Regions from separate parts of the Homo sapiens genome. Here regions 2 and 3 are each linked to region 1. Evidence: promoter capture Hi-C in human tissues and cell types (Jung and others, 2019). All regions are on one chromosome and are shown on one strand. The core of a region is centred on a gene start or on the middle of the fragment in contact, and the rest is flanking DNA. Distances in the headings are between cores, read along the strand shown. Region 1 holds the start of CHRDL2 (chordin like 2). Region 2 has its middle 45 kb from the start of MIR4696. Region 3 overlaps RNF169 (ring finger protein 169).

Region 1 (5,094 bases), core at 1,609-4,108:
CTCACCATGTTCCCCAGGCTAGCCTTGAACTCCTGAGCTCAAGGGTTCCTCTCCCTCTCAGCCTCCCAAGTAGCTGGTGACTGGAACTACAGGTGTGTACCACTGTGCCTGGCTTTTGTTCTTTTCTTTAATAAATTTGCTGTGTGACCTTGGGCAAGTCACTCTTCTCTTCTGGGCTTCAATTTAACTCTAAGTATAGGTATATTGATGGGTAGAAGCAGATGGTTTTTGATAGTTTCACCAGCTCTAACATCCAGGAATCTTAACATTCTCCAATGAGTGCCAGTCCACCTCACCCTAATGAGTTGGCTCCAAGTCTTTTTCTCACATGTCTGGAGATCTGTATTTACAAGGCTGTAGGGAAGATGGAATACTGGCAGGACCTGCTGAGAGGTACAGAGCTGAAGGCCAGGGAGGCACAGACGAGGGAGATCAGAGTGGATCAAGTCACCGGGGAGAGTTTGCTTGAAGAGGTGTGACCTAGGCAAGGCCATGAAAGGCTGACAAGATATGGGAAGCAAAGAAGCAGGGTGTGGGTAGGATAACAGTCTGGTTCTAGGACATCTTTCCAAGATGCATCAAGGGCAATGATATCTGGAGAAAAAATTGCAGGGACTAAGAACAAGGTGTCAAGTGGATGGGAGGCAGGCATGGAGGGCATCCTGTGCAAAGTCTCTTTTAAGAAATAGGAGGCAGGTGTTAGGAGGAAACCCTCAGGGTTCAAGAAAGCGGAAGAGACATTTATTAAGTACACAGCATTGTGCTGGGCACTTTAATCCGTTACCTCCTTTAATCCTCCCAAGAACCCTGCAAGTTCTGGATTAGTATCTCTCTTAGACAGATTAGGAAATTGAGGCTCAGAGAAGTTATGACTTACAAAAAGTCACACAGCTCTAAGGGGCACGGCCAGGATTTGAATACAACACTGAGCTAATTCCATTACTTGTTCTATGTAATGGAAAGACTTATGTGAGTCTCATGCTGCTGGCAGGCCAGAGACACTCAGCCTGCTCTCATGAGCAGAAACAAGACCGTAACAAAGTCCAGCACTACCAGCTCCAGAATGTCACGTGCAAAAGAAAGGCATAGATGGAGGAGCTGAGCTGGGGAGAGGAAAGAGCACCAGACTAGGAGTTGGGAACGCAGGGTCTTAATCCCAGGCTGTGCCATGTATGTCCTGGAGAAACCCACTGCTTGAATGAAGCTCCTTTCTTCTGATTAAGAGAATGTGGTTTGGTTTTCCATCCTCACAGCATTCTAAGAGATTGGCTGGGCATGGGGAGGGGGGACCACCAGCCTATTGTGGGCGCAGTGAGGAAACTGAGGCTCAGATTGATGATGTAACCTGTTTGATGTTACACTGTATCTATGTGGAAAAGCATAATTGGGAACTGATTTTTTTTGGAAGCTATCAAGCACCAGTCTTGTGCTAGCTGCTTTACCTCTTTTCTCTAATTTAATCCTATCAACTCTCCTAGGATTTTTACTTCCGCTTTATAGATTAGGAAACCCAGGGTCAGAGAGGTGCACTCTGTGACGGCCTCCCAGCAGCTGGCATTCAGCGGGGCTGGGATGGTGAAGACGCTGGTCTATCTCACTGTGCCCTGCCGCCTCCCAGAGTCTCACACTGCAAATTCAGGGTTCCTTCTAGACAATGTGAGGCAGGGAATAAAGCATGGGATCTGGAACTAGAGTTCTGGCTTTGGATGGCTTACCCGCTCTGTAAGTTTTAGCAAGTTCCTCCTTGCTCAGCCTAAGTTTTCTCATCTGTAAAGTGCGAATGATAATACCCACCTCACTGGAGAGTTGCGAGGATCAAAAGAGAGAAAAGAATGGGAAGGTTATCCTAATTACCTCTCATTTCTGTCCAATGGCTCTTTCCAAAGGCAAAAAGCCTTTTCTTCTCCATCACACTCCTTACCTGTAGCCAGACATACCCGACTCCCTCCTAGGAACAGTAAGTCCTCCCCCAACCCAAAACACAGTGCCCTGCCCTCTCCCCCCGCTGCCCTTGGTGCCCCTCCTCAGGTCCCTGGCAGCAGCCCTCTCTCAGTTCTGAGTTGTGCCGAGTTCCTCCGGTCCCCCGGCCCATACTGGTCCTCACGGAGTCTCCACCCCTCCGGCACAGGTGCTGCCTGGACGGCTGTCAGAAGAGCTTGGGGTCCAGGTCCTGGCGCTGTCCCTCACATTCCAGGGGCCGCATCCCTCCTCTGCCCACCCAGCCTCCCGGTCTACTTACGGGCTCGAGCGTGGGAGTCCAGGGGGAACCAGAGCAGCGCGAGTCCCAGCAAGGAGGAGAGGACCCTCACCTCGGGAACCATCCTTTCCCCAGGGTCAGGCCGCTGGTCCGGGAGCGGAGTCGGGAGGAAGGGAGACGAAAAGGACACGGAGGCACAGGGGCCACAGATCAACCCACAGACCCCAGGAGGTCTGCTGCTAGAGCGGGGTCGGAGAAGGGCCAGGAAGCAGCGGTGGGCAGGAAAGGAGGGCAGGAAGGGAGGTCTAAGGTGGGAAGAAGAGAAAGGTGGAAAGAGAACGCGGGGAAAGGAGGGAGAGATGGAGAGACGAAGGAAGGTCCAGCAGAAGGGAGAGGCGATCAAAGAAAGGGGGAAGGTGAGAGGGAGAGGAGGAGAAAGCAGGGAGAGGACCGGCGTCTGCCGAGCGCGCAGCGCCGGGCGAGGCGCGCGGGACCAGCGGGTGTTGCGGGCGCGCGGGCTAGAGGCGGCCGGCGCCCCCTGCTCGGTGGGCTCGGGGTCGGGCCGCGGGGGCCTGGGGCCCGGCGGGGCGGCGGTCCCAGCAGCGGCGGCGGCGCGGCGGCCGCGGAGGGAGGCTGAGCGCGGGCCGGCTGTGCTCGCCAAGGGCTTCAGGCGCCGCGCTCGGGCGCATTTGTACTTTGCCGCGGGAAGCAGGCAGCCCGGCCTGGCGCTGGCCTAGCGCTGGCGCCTCCTCTGGGGCACCGCGGGCTCGGTGGATTGGCCACCCGAGAAACAGGCCCACTTTTTCCCCTCCTCTCTTGTGCGGGTCTCCGGGACGGACGCTCCAGGCGCGGCGCCGAGTGGAGGCGAGGGGGCTGCGGAGGGGGAAGGGGCCACGCGGGCCACGGGGTTTAACCCCTGACTCCCCGCGACGCCAAGAATGCAGGAGGGCAGAGTTGAGGGAGACCTCAGGTGGAACTTTCAGGTGGGGAAGGCTGAGCTGTCGGGGCTGCGGGTACCGGGAAGGCTCAGGGTAAGGCGCTCGGCGGTGCGTGCCCGGAACTCCGCAGATGGATGGAATCAGAACACTGGCGTTCTTAATTCAGTTTGTGGTCTACAGCACGCCACCGGAGAGTCTGTTTTCCCAGCTTTAAAATGGGCATTTTAAGATCTTAAAATATCTCTACTATCTTCCCACGAGTGTTGCTAAGATGAAATAAGGTAATGAACGTCGAAACACTCACCCCACAAAGAGAAGGGGTCCTAATTCCAGGTGCCTACAATACCAGTGGCCCCTGTCCCCACTCCGTCTGCCCATGCGCCATTCTCAGGAAAGTCAGCCCATAGGGATCCTGTGCCTTCCCCTGGAGGTCTTCCTCTGCTCCCCGCTCCCACTCCCGAATCAAGGCAAGATCTCTCCTTTGCCTTTGCAGGTGAGGCCTGCACTTCTCTGGGAGTGATGGTCACCTTCAGTCATCTTTAGGGAGAGCTGATTGTCAAAGAGTTTTCTTTCCCACCAGAAGGGGAGCTCCCTGAGGACAGGGCCCTGACACCCTCCAGCCCTCAAATGGTGCTCCATCTCTTGTGTTGAATGAACACATGCACTAATAGGACACTAAGAAGAGAATAGCCAGCTCTGGCCAGACCAGAAACACACAAGCTCTGAAATCAAAAGGGCAGAGTCACTGTCCTGGCTCCATCCGTAACTTGTTGGGCCACTTTGAGTAAATACATCTATCCTTGCTTTGGACCTCAACTTTCTGCCCAGCTTCTCTTGAAGAGCTAATGGAGACTCCAAAGAGTGCCAGAGGAGTATGAGGTGGGAAGGGATGTTGAGCCATATCCCACTCTGGTAGGGAATCATATTTCCGGGTTTAAACACTTGGCTGGCTGGCTGTAAAGGTATCTTTCTGGGCCAAGGCTGGGCTCCCCATTGCACTGTGCTTTCAGGGTATTACCCCCAAGATCTCCACCCTCCAAAAGAGAGCAGTAGGAGGAACCAGTGATCCCCAAACTGGCCCTTCCTAGGGCTCTCAGGATCAGGGACAAACATGATCTGTCCAGTGCCCTTCAGGCTTAATTTCTACTCTAATCTGGCCAGTCTCTTCCTTTCCCCTGAGTATTCTTTATTTTAACAGATAGTGCAAGCTTATGCATGTCACCATGCTTCCCTTTTTGCCTTTGCTTCCAGGGATCTCAGAGTTAAATCCTGTGCTGCTTAATTGCATAAACAATCTCATCCCAAGGGTTTGGGACAGTGATCTTTTCCTTTCTCTTTGTTTAAAATGTGCTGTGCACATATATTCATGTCTTAGATGTAAGAAGTGGATTAAGATGGGTTCCCCTACATCCTGCCCATCATACTTCAAAAAAGGCCTCCACCATCTCAGCCCTCCTGTCCATCCCTATTATCCCCAGAGTTGAGGCCAACTTCATTCCTTTTTTTTTTTTTTTTGAGATGGAGTTTTGCGCTTGTCGCCCAGGCTGGAGTGCAGTGGCGTGATCTGGGCTCACTGCAACCTCTGCCTCTGGGTTCAAGCGATTCTTCTGCCTCAGCCTCCCGAGTAGCTGGGATTACAGGCATGCACCACCTATAATTTTTGTATTTTTAGTAGAGATGGGGTTTCGCCATGTTGGCCAAGCTGGTCTTGAACTCCTGACCTCAGCTGATCCACTCACCTCAGCCTCCCAAAGTGCTGGGATTACAAGCATGAGCCACCGCACCCGGCCATCTTCATTCCTTACTTGAACTTTCCCAACAGCCTCTTACCAGGTCTCCTCCCCCTAATCTGGATCTCTCCTATCTATTTTCCTCACACCTGCCTTGAGAACTATGCTGATCATTTCTACTGACAAATCTGATCACATCACTTTCCCACATAAAACCTATTATTCACTT
Region 2 (5,094 bases), core at 1,045-3,544, 57 kb before region 1:
ACCAGTCTTTATTATGGCAGCCTTAGCAAATGAATACACCCAGCCTCACCCAGGAACTACTGCTTAAAAAACACAAGAGGATACAGAACACAAATAGGAAGCACCTCTGAAGCACCTCTGGGCAGTGTGGGCTGCATAACCCAGAGCTTAGAGATCTCTCTATAGGTTTGTCCCTGACAGAAGCCAGTTCCATTCACAAAGGCACCACTATCCTGGAAGTGTGGGTGTTTCAGAGCAGCCTCCTGGTGGGGCCCTGCCTTAAACCCTGGCAGGCCTGCCAGGAGCTCCTCCTCACCCACAGAGGGCCACATCCACAGAAATGATGACAAAGGGCCCTTAGGTTCTTGCGTTCCACAAGGAGGCTCCAGTGGGAACAGGCCTTGGGAACCAAGGACCTGTGCTGCCCAGAGAAACCCAGGATGGGCGAGGAGCCGGCCTGAGGTCACACAGCCTGAAGGACAGCATCTGAGCTGGACTCTCACCCCCTGCTCTTGTCCCAGCTGCTTCCTTTTGCAGCCCTGGCACCTCGCCCAAATCTGCTGCCACCCGCTTCACTTTCCCACCCTCTCCCCTCCACCTCTCTGGCTCTGACTAAGGCCAGGAGCATGATTTCAGAATGATGAAACCCAGCTCCTGAGGTCACGCCGGCCTCATCGTAGTGGCTGTAATTTTGCACGGCCTCATCCCCCGCAGTAAGCTGGGGAAGCTGCCAGGCCTTTGGCACATGTCTGGGGGGCAATGTGAGGATGAGACAGTTAGAAGAGATCACTTCAAGCCAGGTCAAGAGGAATTTTTGGTTACATACCATCTCTTGTCCCAGCCCTGGTCTGGGAGACACAGACTGATAATGCAGCCTTATTATGCTCACGTCATACCTTTGGCCATCATCCCACTTAATCCCCTTTATACACACAGTTTCCAAGCCAACACCACCAAACTGCCTGCACGTCCGTCCCCACGCTGTGCTGATTCACATCTCTGGGGTTTTGCTCCTGCTGTTGCTGTTACCTCTGTGTGGACTACTCTTCCCTCCTCTTCCTCCACCCTCCTTATCTACTTTGCTAACTCCTGCTCTTCCTTTAGGGCCTAGCTGTGCTGTCACCTTTCCCAGGAAACCTTCTCTGACCATGCCCTCAGCAGGTAGGCCTGTATATTTCTCTCTGTACTTGCATAATCATCTATCTTTATGTCCTTGCATTGCATGTGAATTATCTGCTCACATAACCATTTCCCCATCCAGAATGGGAGCTTCTTAAACTTCTTGCTTGGGATGGGGTTGGGACTAGATCTGGTTCATCTTGGTGTCCCAGCCCCCAGTTCAGAACTGAACATAGAATGAGTCGGTAAGTGTTGATTGAATGTCAGCCCACCCCCTACCCAACACACACAAAGATAGATAAGGCCTCCATTTACAGAGAGAAAAGCCCAAGAGGAGTTTTTTGACCTGTTTAATGTCCCAGGGTGAGTTAGTATCAGGACAGGGATTAGCATCCAGCTCTTTGGGAGCTTAGACTAGTTCTTATGCACGAAGGACAGCATTCATAGAGCAGCCAGCCAAAGGGACCCACTCAACACCTGTGAAAAGAAGAGGGGGGCAGGGAAGAAAAGAAACAAAGGGATCACTTAGCCTGAGCCAAACTGGGCATATTCATTGTCAAATGCTGTTGTAACAAATCACCACATGGGCGCGGTGCTCATGCCTGTAATCCCAGCACTTTAAGAGGCCAAGGCAGGCATATCACCTGAGGTCAAGGAGTTCGAGACCAGCCTGGCCAACGTGATGAAACTCCATCTCTACTAAAAATACAAAAATTAGCTGGGCGTGGTGGTGCACACCTGTAACCCCAGCTACTTGGGAGGCTGAGGCAGGAGAATCACTTGAACCCAGGAGGCAGAGGTTGCAGTGAGCTGAGATCACGCCACTGCACTCCAGCCTGGGCAACAAGACCAAAACTCCATCTAAAAAAAAAAAAAAAAAAAAAAAAAAAAAAAAAAAAAAAAAAAAGCACCACACTTACCGGCTTAAAACAACACGTATCTATTATCTTACAGCCCTGAGGTCAGAAGTTCAGAGTGGGCCTAACTGGGCTAAAATCAAGGCATCAGTGGGTCTACCTTCCTTTCTGGAGACTGGAGGGGAGACTCCATATCCTTGCCTTTTCTAGCTTCTAGAGGCTGCCCGCATTCCTTGGCTCATGGCCCCCTTCCCTTCTCAAAGCCAGTGGCCGGTTGGGTAGTTCTCACAAGCATCCCTCTGACACTTCCTCTTCTGTCTCCCTCCTCAGTTCATAAGGATCTTTGTGATTATATTGGGCTCATCTAGATAATTTGGGATAATCTCATCTCAAGGTTCAGCTGATCTGCAACTGTAATTCCCTTTACCATGTGACCTAACATCCTCAGGTTCCAGGGACTAGGAAGTTGCCATCTTCTTTTTTTTTTTTTTTTTGAGACGGAGTCTCCCTCTGTCACCCAGGCTGGAGTGCAGTGGTGTGATCTCGGCTCACTGCAACCTCTGCCTCCCAGGATCAAGTGATTCTCCTGCCTCAGTCTCCTGAGTAGCTGAGACTACAGGTGCCCACCACCACGCCCAGCTAATTTTTATATTTTTAGTAGAGACGGGGTTTCGCCATGTTGGCCAGGCTAGTTTCCAACTCCTGACCTCAGGTGATCCGCCTGCCTCGGTCTCCCAAACTGCTGGGATTACAGGTGTGAGCCACGGCACCCAGCCATTTGAGGGTCCTTATTCTGTCTACCACACTGTGGGCAAGCAGGTAATGGAATGGATCTGTTGAGGGTGGGGTGACCAGACTTCTAGTGTGCTTAGAACTATCTTGGCTTCAAGCTGTCATCCTGAGGGTGATCGTACGCCCTTTTGCTCTCAAAAACATTCTGGCTTGAAGAATAAATTATATGATTACCCTAGTCACAGACTATTAGGGCAGGAAGCTCAAGCCTTCCATTTTGCAGATGAGGAAACTGAGGCAGAAAGGGGCAAGAATGTGCCCAGTGTCACACAGCTAGTAGCAGAGTTGAGACTAGAACCTAGATCTTTTGCCAGGAGGAGGACAGGTTGGTGCCCAATTCAGACTGAAATATTTCTTGCATCAAGAACACTTCCTAGAGGAAGTGGTAGGCATAGTCATCAGTGATGATAATAGTGAAGATGATAATGATGAATTTATTGCACACTTACTGTGGGCCAGGCATTGTAAATTAATGCCAAATGCTTTAGATGTATTATTTCATTTGGTCTTCACATAGGGAAACCAATTTATAGTGGTTAAGTGACCAACCAGTAGGCATTGAATCTAAGTTTCAAACTCAAATCTTTCTTATTATAAAGTGAATTATTTCCTCTGTACTTAGAGGGTTGTTGGGCTTAGGGGCCTAAGAGGATTAGAAGCTTTACTTTGGAGAAGCCCAGCTTTAGGGTAGAGATGGAGAATGATGGCGGGGTTGGGGATTTATTGAGCCTCTGAGTCTATGAGAGAATGGATATGAGGATGCAGTGGCTCAACGACTTGTGTTTAATTTCCACTGAAGACTGAAATTATGGTCACAGCAGGCGTAGATTATCTATTTATTTTTAAAGGTTTATTGTTTTCCACATCTGCTGAATGTAGAACATTTGGAAAATAACAGAAGGAAAGAGAAAATAATAACAATCATGATAATTCCATACTCCCAAAGAACCACTGATAACATTTTAGCAAATTTCCTTTCAGGGATTTTTTTTCTTTTTTTCTTTTTATCCTCTCTTTCTTTTTTTTTTTTTAACTTCCCATTCACCCAATATTACAGGGATTTTTTTTTAAATAAAGTATTTTGACTTATGAAAAAGTATAAGAATAATATGATCAACACACATGTACCCACCCTCCAGCTTAAGAAATAAGATATTCTATATATTATTGAAGTCTGGCATACCTGTTACCCAGTATATTTCCTTCCTCCCTGCCAGGAGGTCTTTCTAGGCTTTTCTCTATGCATGTTGCTTTTGCTTACTTGATGTTGCTGTGATTTTACAGTTTGATACCAGAAGAGCTCAGGAGAGACATCAGCAGGTCCCCAACCCTGGCACAGTCTAGTAGTTCCAAAATATTACCTTATAAAAAGGCAGCTTTGGACTGGCTCCACCTTCCCACATTTGGTGCTGGGTGGCCCAGTGATGTCACTCTACCCTTGGGAGTTCCTGCCCCAGCTGTGTAGCTGTGGGCCTGGTTTGGCGGGTCCCCTTGCCCTCCCTCTTCCCACCTGTCTGACCTCTGTGCTGCCTGTGCTCCCCCTCTTTCTCAGCCTCTCCCTTCCTTGTAGCTCAGCTTCTCTGCCTTGTCGCATCAATCCCCGTCTCCTCTCTGCTCCAGCTCCTCTTCTATGGGCAAGCAGCGGCCCAGGTGGAGAGAGCAACTCTACTTTCTGCCACAGGCCCTACTTCCCGAGGGTTCTAAAGCTCCCCTATCTTTCCCACCAATGCCAAGAATTCCTTCATTTCCATTTTATTCATAAAGTCATGGATTATGGGACTGGAATCACACTTAGAGCCTATGCAGCCCTTCCCCACCCCCATTTTCCAGCTGAAGAAATCGGCTGGGAGAGGACAACCCATCTGCCCCATGTCATCTGTCATCCAGAGGGGACAACAGAGCAAAACCAGAAGCCAAGGTTCTTGCCTCTTATTCCAGTGCTCCTGAGACCCCTCCCACGGGTGAGCACCCACCAGGGCTGGATGCCCCCACCCCCGCCCCTGGAAGCCTGCTTTGAGAAGACTGGGGTGTTGTGTAAGAGCGTGTGGTGTTGGTCACTGCTGCTGTTTCATCTGGAGCATATGGGATCTCCGGGGCATGGTGGGTGGGAGAAAGCCTTGCAGCTGCTTCATTCAGGGGAAGAGTGTTAGGGCTGGCGAGGTCCTAGAGATCATCCGAAGCCCACTCCTTCCAGACAGGAGGAAACAGCTGCTTGTATGGTGAGGAGGGAGACCAGTCTGGTTGATGCTTTTGAGGTCATCCTGCAAAAGGTTCTTGAATGCCAGATGAAGAATTTGATCTTCACTCAAAGGGCTGCAGATTGACGCCCAGCTCCATCAAGAACTAG
Region 3 (5,094 bases), core at 773-3,272, 48 kb after region 1:
AGAAGATTGGCTGAAGTGGCAGATTGGGTCCTGTTTACAAATCTTGGAGGCAGTGGGAAGCCAATAAAAGTTATTAAGTGGAAGGGTGGTAGGGTCAGTTCTCTTCATAAAGAAAGGGAAGCAATGTTAAAGATAGATGGAAAGACAGAGTCTAAGAGACAGGGAGGCCAGTTACTTATCATTGAATGCCCACAATCTATACCAAGTAGGTATTGGAGGATTAGGTGAGATAAACAACTGTGTTGAGGTAAGTGCTACTCCCATTTTATGAATGAAGAAACAGGCTTAGCAAAGATAAATACTGGTAGGCACATAGTCACTAGGTGACTGCAGGTCTGTCTGGTTCCAAATCCTGCATTCTTTTTAATTCTGGTATCATTCTACCTTGTGGACTAACAGGAATAATTCTTTGCCTCAAGCAGGGCAAAACTTAATTCCAAAGGATTTTGTATCATGGTGGTGGTAGATGTGGTAGTGAGGACAACCACATGGGCTTGGTCTGCCTAGGATAAAAGGCCATAAGGTCCAAAGCCTTCATCTTAGCAGCATTCCCATGTCTGTGTTTGATTCTGTGACCTCCTTTATCATGTGCCTCTTGCTGCTTTGACTGTGCTGATCCAGTGCGGATTACCTAACAACAAAGCCTTGTTGTTGGGGCCATTTCTGGATTCAACAAGAAACCTTATTCACTTTGACTCTACTCTTATACCTGCTTTTGCAAATCCTGTTGGTCTCGGTTGTCTTAAATTTTTTTTTTTTTGAGACAGGGTCTTGCTCTTTTGCCCAGGTTGGAGTGCAGTGGCACAATCAAGGCTCACTGCAGCCTTGACCTTCCGCCTTAGCCTCCTGAGTAGCTGGGACTACAAATATGCACCACCATGCTTGGCCAATTTTTAATTTTTTGTGCAGATGGAGTCTCATTATGTTGTCTGGGCTGGTCTCAAACGGCTAGTCTAAGAGATCCTCCTGCCTTGGCCTCCCAAAGTGATGGGATTACAGGCAGGAGCTACCACGTCCAGCCTCAACTGTCTTAATTTGTCTTTCTCACTAATCCAGAGATTAGCAAACTACGGTCAGCAGGCCAGATGCAGCTTCATCTCATCTTGTGAAAGCATTGCCTCTCCTTCCCAGCCCTGTTCTCTTTCTCCTGTGGATTCTTAACTGCAGTGTGTGTTTGTAAGATTCATTTGGCAGTTGTTTATTCTGTGACATTGCATCTGTCATCGTCTCCCTAGTTATTTAAAACTATTTTTAAAGCTTTTTATGATTTAGTCTTAGCTAATAAACTGCATTATAAATGTTTTGGGGAAAGAGTTTTGTGCCTTTCTTTTTATATTTTCTCGTTCTGCAGTACCTCCCTTCTTCCTCATTGCTCATTCCCTCTTTAACCTACTAATCTCTGGTGACTGTTTCTATCATTCTTACACATTTACATATGATAACTTGATATGTTATCACGAATTTTTTTTCCATTTGTGAGTTCTACGATTATGTCACTGTTTCTTTTTCCAGTATGTTATTGCTGTTTCTGTGTTTAATGGTTTTTCTTGTTTGAGATTATAAGGTATACTTAATCTGGTGATGTTGTGCCAAACCCCATCAGCTCCAGTGGGGATGGCACCAGGTTCAAGAGGCCAAAGAAGAGACTTAGCCAGTAAACGAGACATGGAGTTTTCCTGGGGGCTTTACATACAGGGAGAGACTCCAGTGGTGGCGGGCTGGGCGGGAGAACTGCCGCCACTTTCAAAAGGCCTGCAATTTCTATAGTATTTTTACGTAGCAGCCTTTATCTAACAACCGCCACCTGGCACCCTTCATTCAACTCAAAAGTCAGGACCTCTATGTCCCATATGGCCCATGTTCCACTGGACAGGGGCTCAGGTGTTCCTCATAGACAAGGAATGAATTTCTGAGTTGGCCACTCCCAGATTCCCTAGCTTGGAACACACATTCAGATGTGTCCACCATATCGGTTATTCTCAGGGTATGCTGAAGTTATTGCTATCAGGTGCATTTACCATACAGGTGACTTGCATCTTTCACTAACTTAAGCAGTTTCCCATCTTATGAAAGCAATACTGCGTATTATTAAAAGTATACAATTTTAGTGACTGAATAATAGTACAAGTGTATGGTCTGTCCATAATCAGCCTAACCATTTTCTCAGTATTGGACAGTTAAATTATTCTTGATTTTTATTTTGCAGTTGTTAACAATGTTGCAATGAAAATATTTTTATGTAAAAGTTTTGCGATATTTCAGATAACTGTCTTAGATAGATTCCTAGAAATTAAATTACTAGATCAGATGTTACATAGCATTTCATAAGTTCTTGTGTGGGCTGTGGCATTTCTGTTTGATTAGTACTTTGCCAAAGAATAGTTTAAAAACACAGTAGTAGTAGTACTACTACTACCATAGTAGTAATCGGTGGTGTAAATTATGGAACCTAAGTGAGCAGCCTTAAAATTTGATACTAAATTTTATTAGCTCAGTTCAACTTTCTTTCTGTGTATTTCCTCTTGTTCCCAGGTAAACACTCTATATTGCCTGTTGTAAACTGTTACTTGTCTTAGGCAAGGGGGTAGGTGAAAATTGCATTTGTTTAAGACAGTCGGTACTTGGCTATCATCTATATTCTTGGAGAATCAGAAGGAGTAAACCAAAAAATAGTAGATAAAATGGGAAACACTTTAGTTTGGTTTTATTTTTATTTTATTTTATTTTTTGGGGGGGTTCAATTCTAGCTGATTTGATTTTCTTCTCAAAAAAAAGTTATTTACAATAGTTTGGTTTTAGAATACATTTGTGGTTCACTCCTGTATTTCTACCTTACTACTTTTAAATGGTGCATTTATTTTAAACATTAAAGTTTCTCCTTTCACTTACTTCATTTGACAGTGGTTGTTCAAGGTTTAGTGGATGGTATCAGCAGGTAAATTTGATTGGCTGCTTTTTTTTGGAGATGGGGTTTCCCTACTTTGCCTGGGGTTGGCCTCAAACTTGCAGTCCTCCCACTCTAGCCTTCTGAGTAGCTGGGACTACAGGCATGTGCTATTGTGCCCGGCTAAGCAGGTAAATATGAGATTAATATGGATAATTGCCTTGTTTCTTGTGTATCTTTGCACTTAACATATGTTTCATTGTAAAAGATGTGCTTTGTTTCATTGCCTGCCTTTCGCTGTTGTGCACCTCCACCTCTTGCAGTACTTAGGTATTTAGTTTTATAACTCTTTTGACATTCTATAGTTGTTTCACCCAAGTATGTTTTTCCTTTCTTTGTAAGATTGTAAACTTATTTAGGACTTGAATCACCCATGTTCTGCTTTTTATTATGTCCCTTTCTTGACTCTCAAAGAATGCTCTCTACTTTTGTTTTCTTCCTCGCTGTTCATTCCCTCTTTACTCTCTTAATCTATGGTGACTACATCTTCAAATCTCATCTATCCAGCATTACTGCCCACACACCCTATTCCAGTCTATCTGACACAACATAGTCACTTCTGCCTTTGCTTGTGAAGTTTCCTTTGCCAGAAATGGCTTTTTCCTCACTAGTACTTGTTCTTAATGCCTAACATAATTCACCTCCTCCAGGAAGCCTTGCCTTTAAGAATTCAGCCTCATTGATCCTTTTTCCTTTCCTCAGATTTACTTATGTATGCACGCTTGCCTTATGATGTGCATCATTTCATACTTTAAAAAATGGTTTTAATTTTTGGCTTGTAGTTTCATCATGAAAATCTTATCTTCTCCACTGCTTATGAAATATGTAGATTTTGCTTCTGGCTATGATGAAGCAGATTGTAGCAGACAAAAACTCCTGTTGAGAATAACTAGAAAAGCTTGATTTAAAAAAATCTATATGAAGGCATTGTAAGTTGCCAAGGCAGCCAGGATTTCAGACATTTGTGGATTCTTGGCAAAATGAGAGTGCAGCTATTAAGAGGCAAAAACGTCAGTGGTGCTTTCTTCATGAGACTGAGGATACAAAAATTGTAGTTCAGAGCTGCCAAGGCAACCAGAACCTGAGGGTCCAAGATCCCAAAGAGAAGAGATGTATAGCCTCTTGCCCTCTCCACCTACTTCCCCGCTACCTAGCTCCCAGGGTGTTTGCTGATTGTTAACTGTGCGGGGTAAAAGGCTAAGAACCCTCACAGAAAGCTACTGAAAAGCAAGGCAGACTCTAACAGTTCTCCAGTGTTGAGGAGAAAAAGTTCATGATCTTTCAAGGAAGATAGGCTCGGGAAACACTGATCTCAGTTGGATCCTTGGAGGGCTACAAACTAGGGGAGAATGAGCTGTAGAAGCTTTATACTGCAGCCGTCTTTGAGTCAGCTCATGTCATGTTTGGATTGTGAAGTGATCTGCCCCCTCATTCTAACTGCCTATCAGAGAAGATGGTGGATCCTCTGTAGGAATATAACATCACCCAGGGCCTTTATAGTTTTTCATACACAATGAATGACATTCTAACAAAAACTACAGATAAACCCAGAGACCAGAAGAGGAATAAAACCAGACAGTACAGAAATAGATCCATGTGTGTCCCCATCATCTAATTAGTTAATCAATCTTTATTTGAAGGACATTTAGGTTGTTCCCAGTCTTTAGTATGGCGAGTAATCAGCAGTGAACATTCTTGTATGTATATATTTGTACACATATATATCTTTAAGATAAAGCATAGCTTTGCTAACTCTGGTCTTATGAAACTTTTTGTTCTTTACCAACTTGATACAAAAGTGTTTTGTTCTTAGTTTTTATTTTTCTATACTATGAACTGCCTATGCATGTCCTTTATCCATTGTTGTATGGGGTTGTTAGGCTCATACATATATATAAGGCATAGTGGGTAAGTGCACAGGCAGACCCTGGATCTAGATTGCTTGTGTTAAATCATAGCTCTTTCACTTACAGCAGTGGTAGCCTTAGCAAATGAAACTCTGTGTACCTCAGTTTCCTCATCTGTAAAATGTGGATAACCATAGCACCTTCCCATAGAGTCATTATGAAGTTGAGTTAGTTAATATTCAGGGCATAGAAGTGGGCCTGGCATGCTACATAACTGCCAACCACTGTAATGATGCTACTGGT

Evidence for each region. Contacts are between HindIII fragments. The study calls those that stand out against the background at their distance.
Region 2: a fragment that was not itself captured here is called in contact with the fragment with the promoter of CHRDL2 in region 1 in 4 of the 25 tissues and cell types used here (IMR-90 fibroblasts, bladder, neural progenitor cells and 1 more).
Region 3: a contact is called between a fragment that was not itself captured here and the fragment with the promoter of CHRDL2 in region 1, in 1 of the 25 tissues and cell types used here (mesenchymal stem cells).

Annotation. Positions count from the first base shown.
Region 1 is chr11:74,728,568-74,733,661 of GRCh38, forward strand. CHRDL2 (chordin like 2) reads right to left here and starts at 2,859. Exons shown (of 11, transcript NM_001278473.3): 1 at 2,240-2,859. The coding sequence starts at 2,321. The HindIII fragment of the contact is 7,141 bases long and covers 1-5,094 here.
Region 2 is chr11:74,672,527-74,677,620 of GRCh38, forward strand. No RefSeq gene overlaps it. Among named protein-coding and RNA genes, the nearest start is that of MIR4696, 45 kb to the right of the region's middle. The HindIII fragment of the contact is 7,509 bases long and covers 1-5,094 here.
Region 3 is chr11:74,776,906-74,781,999 of GRCh38, forward strand. All of the region lies in intron 1 of RNF169 (ring finger protein 169), which reads left to right. Among named protein-coding and RNA genes, the nearest start is that of RNF169, 31 kb to the left of the region's middle. The HindIII fragment of the contact is 4,103 bases long and covers 1-4,074 here.